Regions from separate parts of the Homo sapiens genome. Here all the other regions are linked to region 1. The links are contacts of gene promoters, found by promoter capture Hi-C in human tissues and cell types (Jung and others, 2019). All regions are on one chromosome and are shown on one strand. The core of a region is centred on a gene start or on the middle of the fragment in contact, and the rest is flanking DNA. Distances in the headings are between cores, read along the strand shown.

Region 1 (2,521 bases), core at 12-2,511:
TGTGTGCTCCCCCAGCCCAACTGCATAGCCAAATTGACAATAAAGTATGGCCGTGTCCCAGCTGTCATTGTTGTAAACTGTCCTGAAACGACCCTCACTCCTGGATACCTGATCTAGGGGGTTGTTAGGAGCTGCCACCCTAGAAACCTGCCCAGTCTCTGGTCCAAGTCGCACACATCAAGCTGAAGCTTCTTGATCCCTCAGGTCTCTTCCTCGCTTTGTCCACGCTTCTTTCCTTCTAGACTGTCTGGACACATTCTCAGTCACCTTTTCCGTACTATTTGCCTATTAATCCCACCCCTCCGCTCAGGTCACGCAGGTTCCCCTGCCCAGCTTCTGTCCCGAGCAGTAAACATACGGTCCGCAAGGGTTTGCTTTTTTGACCTGGGCGAAGTGTGTTGCCAACACGCACTTGGACCAGACTCGAGACAGCGGCCACTCGGCCAGGTCCCCCGGGGTCCAAACCGATACGAAATGGTGCCCTCTGCCCGTCGCCCCCTTGGGCTCCTTTTCAAGGGCAGCTATCACGCCGCCTCTGGTCCCTGAACTTTCATCACTCTTCGGGAAGCGCTTTGTCTTTTTAAAGGAGATTGGGGACGAATATTAATGACTGTAGCCGAGAATCTATCAAATCCGCCCAATTCCATGCCAGGGATAGACTCAGGTCCTTGCACCGAAGGCGAGCCCCTGACACTAGCTCGCGTTCTTCACACACGGTCACCCCGCAGACCCAGAGATTTCTCCCACTTCCCCAAATCTGCAGGAGAAACCATAGGAGGGGGTCACGAGGCACCATCCTGGAGCCCAGCTTCTCCTCTGCCCCAGTCCTCCGCATACAACCTGCTTCAAAAGCCCAGGAGAAAAGCAGTCACCTTGACTCTAGCGCCTCGGTCCTTAGGGGTTTGGAAAACGCCAGGAAGCCCAAGGCTACCCGGCACGCGCTCGCCTGGCCTGAGACCCACCCTGGAAGACGAGTTTCCCTCCCGCGGGCATCGTGGCAAGTTACCACTTAGTGGCAGATAAAGCAGGGCGGGGCAGGTGGAGCGGGCGCCGAGCGCCTAGCCCGCAGCCCCTGCGCGCCTACCTGGAATGGCTAAATTGGTGAGGGGGATGCTGTGCATGCTCTCCGGCAGAGTTGCCATCCAGTCGGCTAATTTCAGCTCGTTTTTCCCCTGAGACGAGGCCATCGTGCCAGTCGGCGTGCAGCGCGCTGGTCCCAGCACTCCTCGGGCAGGCTGGCAGGCTGCTGCCGCTAATCCAATGTTTGCTCTAGCCCCGCTAGAGTTTACACTCCTCTCTGCGCCACACCCACAGGATGGCGCAGACACATGCTAATTTTAATAATTATTCAAAACACCCCGTGCTCCCTTAGTGCCTCCGCCAGACTCCGCTGGAGCTTTTGTTCCTGACGTCCGTGCTCAGCTCTCTCCGCTCTCCCCTCCCTCCCCAACCCCCTCCTCCCGTCTTATCCTTCCTAGGCGTCTCTGCCTTTCCTCGCCATTCTGCAGCTTTCCCTGGTTTCTTATTTTTCTTTTCTATTCATTTTTTTCCAACTGCTTTGCCCATGGCTTGCTCGATCCTTTGCTGTGACTTTCTCGTCCTGTTTGTATGAAAGACAGTCTTGCACTTGAACCTAAAATCCTAGCAGACTTTGGGATGTTATTGCCTCCTGAGGAACAGACTTCTCATGCTGGGTTTCAGGGCTTTCCGTCCTTATCAAAGAGCTTTCCTTTTTGTAATCTACAACAGGTTATACCTTTCCTCAGCCAGAGACCACAACCCTGTTTATTAAAAAATGATTATCTTTATTCACTCTTTTGCCTACTTTGTGAAATAGCTGGTAAGTATGAGTCAGTGAAGGGCATGGTAAATTCTAGGTGGTTCCTACTTAATCCTGGGTACCTTGCTCCAGACATTTCAAAGTCAAGAAATGCTACTCCCCCTTCTTTTCTCAGATCATGAGAAGTCTACATTATTTCCATGGAGAACACTGCCTCTGTCCTGTCAGTTTCATGGCACTCAGGGTAAGACTGGAGCCTTATGCTGGAAGAAAATCGCCACATCTCCCAGTGACATGCTCTAATTATTGCCAGTAGCATTTGGTGGAATGTATTTGGCACCATTCAAAGTGATCTATGTGACTGTCTGCATTTTCATTCCTTTGCAGACTGGAAAGATGTGCCTCTCTCAAGAGAAATCACTCACTGGGCCTCCAAAGAACTGTCTGGGTCCACCTGCTCTCAGATGAGTAAAAGGAGAGAGATGAAGTTTTACAAATGTAATGAGAGCAGCAGTGGCCTGAATAGGAATTATAAGAGATGAACTGAAAGTGTGCTGGGCTTTTGCAACCCAGGAAATGGAAATGCAATAAACAGACCTCTGTTCTTTCATGCCAGGGTTGTGTAAATTTTTATTTTTCTATGGGAAATGCTATTAGATTGCGGAAATGACAATCAACATAGGAGACAAAGAGAGCCATGAAACATGAGAATAATTATTCAAGGTTAGTAAATCCATTTAA
Region 2 (2,521 bases), core at 14-2,513, 220 kb before region 1:
AAATCAATAAAGATGGCTGAGAGCAGTTGCAGAAAGAGGGTGGTACAGACTTCATATGGTCTGACCTGTTTCAGGCCACTTTGTGTTTTTGGCTTAAATACATTTATTGTAACCATTTTGCTATTGGTAAGTATTTCAGGAGTCTTGAAAAAATAGAATAACTTTTTTTCTTTCTTATAACTTCTATATTTAGTGCAAAGATCATGAGCTTTGGCATCAGGCAGTCCTGGGTTTAAATTCTACTTAGAGATTTTGTAATGCTGAGAACATTGTTATCCTTTAGGAGGCCTTGCTCCTTTTATTGCATGGTTATCAAGGTTGAAATAAATAACATGTTCAAAATAACCAGAAAGCTTGATAAATGTCAGTTTCTCATTCCACACACCATCCCTTGAGTTTTTACTTTTATTTTTTCTTTACCTAAACTCATTTACCTGGTTTTTCTGGTCTGTGGGGCCCTTGGTAACCTTCTTTAATTTCTAAGGTATTGGAAATTAAAGAAATTACTTTTCTACTTGAATATTGGGTTACAGATTCTCCAGAATTCTATAACTTAGGGAAATTTAAATCTTCTTTAAACATATTAGTAACTAGTAAAAGATACTAGTTCTCTATTTTTACTGATGAAGAGTCTGTTTCGACTGACTAAAATCTTTAGAATCCTTCTTTAATATGCTATATGGCCACAGTTGATCAATTTCTAGTTGAATATTGTAAGCTTAGGTGAACTAAGGTCATCTAGAATCTTATTGATTTAATATAGTGGGAGGGAGATAAATGGCTGAGAGAAAGATGGGCAATTATAATGGAGTCTAGTACAAAGATCATGGGATCTGTAGTCAAATCCTGGGTTAAAGCCATCTTTTGCTCATGTAAACTTGAATAGATAATTTAAAATCCCCAAAACTCAGTTTCTTTATTTATAAAATTGGATACTTAGTATACAATTATACAAAATAATTAGTAAACAGTCATACTAAATCATAGTATTTAGAATGCCTTCCCTGTATAAAGTATTTAAATTTTATACATGCATTATTTCATTTAACAGTCACAAAAACTTTACCAAAATTGGACACTAGAACTTTACTTAGTATCCAATTTTGGTAAAGTTTTTGTGACTATTAAATGAAATAATGCATGTATAAAATTTATATACTTTATACAGGCAAGGCATTCTAAATACTATGATTTACTTTTTTCACAACAGAAGGTAAAGTGTAGTTCCCAATTTAGGCCTTTTTCTTGCATATGCAAAGGAGTGTCTGATTATGTATCTGGGAAAGAATATAATGAAAAATAGAGGGCAGAGGAAAGGGGAAGAAAGCAAGCAATATTTTTTCAATTCTTTGAATTTCCTAGGGCATGATATTCTAACTCATGCTTATCTGGTAGATGCTTGGAGGGAAGGAAGATGACTTTGGGTGCATCTTCCATCATCACGGTGTCCGGAATTCCTGGATGCCTACCAGAGTAAACTGGTTCAGCTTTTTCTGAAGCAGACATTCCAAGCAACAAAAGAGGCTCCGTCCTACCCCTCACCCGTAGACTTGATCTGGTGTCTATTGAGCTGCTGGGATTGGACAAAAAGATGGATAAGCTGGTCCCAAAGATTTTTTTCTGAGATGGGGTCTTGCTATGTTGCCCAGGCTGGTCTGAAACTCCTGGGCTCAAGTGACCCGCCTGCCTCAGACTTTCAGTATTACAGGCATGGGCCACTGTGCCCATCTTCTACAAAGCTTTTAAGTGATAGGAACAGAGCCTAGTTTTAGCCCCATCCCAAGGGCCCCATGGGACATAGTGGAATTGACTGGGCAGTCATTTGCATAACCAGGTTCTATTCATTGTGATACCACTCCCTGAATTCTCCTACTCTGGTTACCATTCAGCATTGGTAATTGGGGTAGATGAGATGGAGGTAGGTATCTTAGAATTAATGAAAACTAGAAAACAAAAAGGATGATAGATGACTAATACCCTTTTAGCCCTCTGCTTACCTTCAACAACAATTCACTCTTCCTCTCTCAGCTGATAAATTTGCTTTCAATTTCACTGAGCAAACTGTGGCAATCAGAAGAGGTCCACAAGTTCCCACACCACATCTATCCACCAACTGGCATCCTCACCCTTATACTCACTTTCCTCTTGCTGTAGATGAGGTGTCCGTGTTCCTAGTAAGGACAGCCTCTTCAATTGTTTATCAGATTCCAGCCTTCTCACATTCTCAGGAATATTACTCCAGAAATGCTCCTCTCTTGCATCATCAATTTTTTTCTCCAGTTGAATTATTTTCATTCATCTACTTATATGCTATTATTTTAATAATCTCAAATAAACCCTCTCTTTACCCTATTTTTCCCTGTAGCCTATCACTCCATTTCTTTGCTCTCCTCTACCACAAAACCCCTAAAAAATATGGCATATAGTCACTTCTAGTTCCTCCTTTCTCATTCTCTTTTAAACCCACTCAAATTGTGTCTTTGTTTCTATCATTTTAGTAAAGATGCTCTTGTCAACAATG
Region 3 (2,521 bases), core at 11-2,510, 150 kb before region 1:
GACTGCTTGAATATTGAACTAATTATCACAATTTTAATATACAAACTCTTGAATCATCAAAGCTCTCACAGATGAGAGTTAAAAACAAAACTAGAGATATAGAAAGTGGCTCTTTGGGCAGGCCACCAACTAGACCACCACGCTTACTTTCATGTTAGCCTGTCAGTTAGTACATTGACCAAGAGAGATAACCTGAAATTTGGATTGGTTTTTGCTCTATCCCTGAAGCTTTGGGGATTTAGAAATATTCTGGGCAAGAATCAGTGACACTCTTTGGAAGCCATTTTTACGTGTAAAAAGCTACTCATCTGACAGGACTTTTGTTTGTCCCTGAATTTGGAAGTAGACAAACATTTTCTTCTTTTTCATTTTGTAGTTAGAAAATGTGTGATACTTTCATATTACTTTTTTGAGTCACTGTGAAAAGAATTATATAATTTCAGATCTTCATCAGAGACAACTCAAAAAATGGAGTGATGTGTAGGGGGTGAAAAAAAGCAACAGAGACTTTGAAATCAGACTGACACATGTTTGAATCCTAGCTCTGCCACAGATGCTGTGCAAGGCTAGGTGAGTTGGTTTATTTGGCTAAGGCTCATTTCTTCCATAGGTAAAATAGAAATAAAAATATCTGCATCATTTAGTTGTTAGGAGGACTGAAATAAGAACATAAATAATATGTCTATTATAGTCATGCAAAAAATATTAGTTCTAATTCCAATCTCTTCATTTTACAATTGAGAATGTTAAAATCAGAAACCGACACCTTGAAAGTTAAACAAACTTCACCTTAGGTTTGTGGATGTCACTCCTGTTGTTTAAAATAACACAATAATTTAAATTACAAAAGATTTATGAGTTAAGTTTTAAATGTAGACATTTTATTTCGCTTTTTACTGCTTGCTATTTTACTGGGATACAGCAACTCCTGATCAACCAACCATGTAGTTTATTATAGTGCTGCGTAGTCCAGGAAGAAGAAATAAGGGCAATTCACTTGGTTTAGGGTCATTCTTTAATAATCAACTACCAGTAACAAGTCGAATCTCTCTCAACAGTTAGTGTTCATGAATGTCTACTTTGGCATCTCTTCCTGTTTCGGTAATAATTCAAATGAAACTAGTGTTTAGTATTTAGACATCATATGATCAGATTTTTTTTTACAACATATTATAGTACATATGTCCATAGAAACTGTCATTGTTACCACAGAATCAGCATAATGATGCTAGAAGAGGGGACAACTGCCTTTTCAGATAAGGAAACTGAAAGCAGATGAAATTAAATGACTTCTCCTGGCTTACAGAGTTAGTCGGTACATGGCAGCGCTGGGTTGAAAAACCAGGTAAATAACTGATTTTGACTTATCTTAGAAGTTACCACATGATGTGGAAATAAACCGTTTATTAATTTGTCTCTCCCACTGCAGGGTAACCATGTTGAGGATAAGGGGCTATGTCCTAATCATTTTAAAGTACAGTCACTAGCATACACTCAGTAAATGTTCTGTAAATATCTACTGCTTGATCCAAGTAATACAGATAATAATATATTTTTTTAAAAAGACTTTCTCCAAGAATTCAGGATATTTTCTCTTATCTTATTCTATGACAGATGACTCTAAAGTAGTGGAATTTTTTTTAACTGACATCCCAATACTTATAAGCTGAAGATGAGCTGTCATTCAGAATTATTACCCATGGAGATGACTGTTCACTTATCCCATCAATGACAGAATGACTCCGAATCTTTTTAAGACTCCTTTATTGAAATTGACTTTAGTATCTGTTCATGAGGAAAGAAAAATCCATCTCATTATTGTTTCACCTAGATTTTGACTCCAAAGAGCCTTCATTAGCTTTGCTCACTTACCTTATCTGCTAAACTTGAATGAGCCTAGCTTGTTTCAAAAAGCAATTTATCCTGAAAGGAGAAGGACTTATCCCTGACTAAAATTATTCTTAAAATTGCTTCAGTATCACTTGGATAAATGAGTAAATTCCCAAGGTGACTAATATGCAGGTGTCAGTAGACACTAAAAATGTGTAAGCTTTGTCATATTTGTTTAAATGAAAAACATGCCATATTTCTAAGTATTTTATGCTTCTCTAATCCCTGGACAGTTGGTATCATCTGTTTAATGTGTAAAGAAATAGAGCATCTGCAAAAGTAAATGACTGTCACAAGATTTTTTGTGCAGTGGCAGCTCTAGTCCACCAGTTTCCAGCCAGGGTCAACTCTGTATCCTCCTCCAGGGGTGGGCATGGGGGGAGGGCATTTGGCAATAACTGGAGACATTTTTTTCAGTCATAACTCAGGGGAAGGTGCTACTGGAATCCAGTGGGTAGAGGCCATGGATGCTGCCAAACATCCTACTATGCACAAGACAGCTTCCCGCAACGAATTACCTTGCTTAAAATGTCTATATTGCCGAGGCTGAGAAACCCTGTTCAAGGATAAGAATTCTCACCCTCAGTCTCTTCAGGATCCTTCACTACAATCAGTGTTAAGACCCCTGTGT

Evidence for each region. The method cuts DNA at HindIII sites, captures the fragments that hold promoters and counts their contacts. A contact is called where the count stands out against the background at its distance.
Region 2: a fragment that was not itself captured here is called in contact with the fragment with the promoter of PLCXD3 in region 1 in 2 of the 25 tissues and cell types used here (H1 embryonic stem cells and dorsolateral prefrontal cortex).
Region 3: a contact is called between a fragment that was not itself captured here and the fragment with the promoter of PLCXD3 in region 1, in 3 of the 25 tissues and cell types used here (heart left ventricle, hippocampus and mesendoderm cells).

Annotation. Positions count from the first base shown.
Region 1 is chr5:41,509,340-41,511,860 of GRCh38, forward strand. PLCXD3 (phosphatidylinositol specific phospholipase C X domain containing 3) reads right to left here and starts at 1,262. Exons shown (of 3, transcript NM_001005473.3): 1 at 1,085-1,262. The coding sequence starts at 1,187. RefSeq lists an enhancer at 788-1,616. The HindIII fragment of the contact is 4,804 bases long and covers 1-2,521 here.
Region 2 is chr5:41,291,679-41,294,199 of GRCh38, forward strand. The region is part of intron 1 of LOC124900969 (a long non-coding RNA gene); the gene reads left to right. All of the region lies in intron 1 of LOC102723740 (a long non-coding RNA gene), which reads right to left. Among named protein-coding and RNA genes, the nearest start is that of C6, 79 kb to the left of the region's middle. The HindIII fragment of the contact is 3,537 bases long and covers 1-2,521 here.
Region 3 is chr5:41,361,826-41,364,346 of GRCh38, forward strand. All of the region lies in intron 2 of PLCXD3 (phosphatidylinositol specific phospholipase C X domain containing 3), which reads right to left. Among named protein-coding and RNA genes, the nearest start is that of PLCXD3, 150 kb to the right of the region's middle. The HindIII fragment of the contact is 6,132 bases long and covers 1-2,521 here.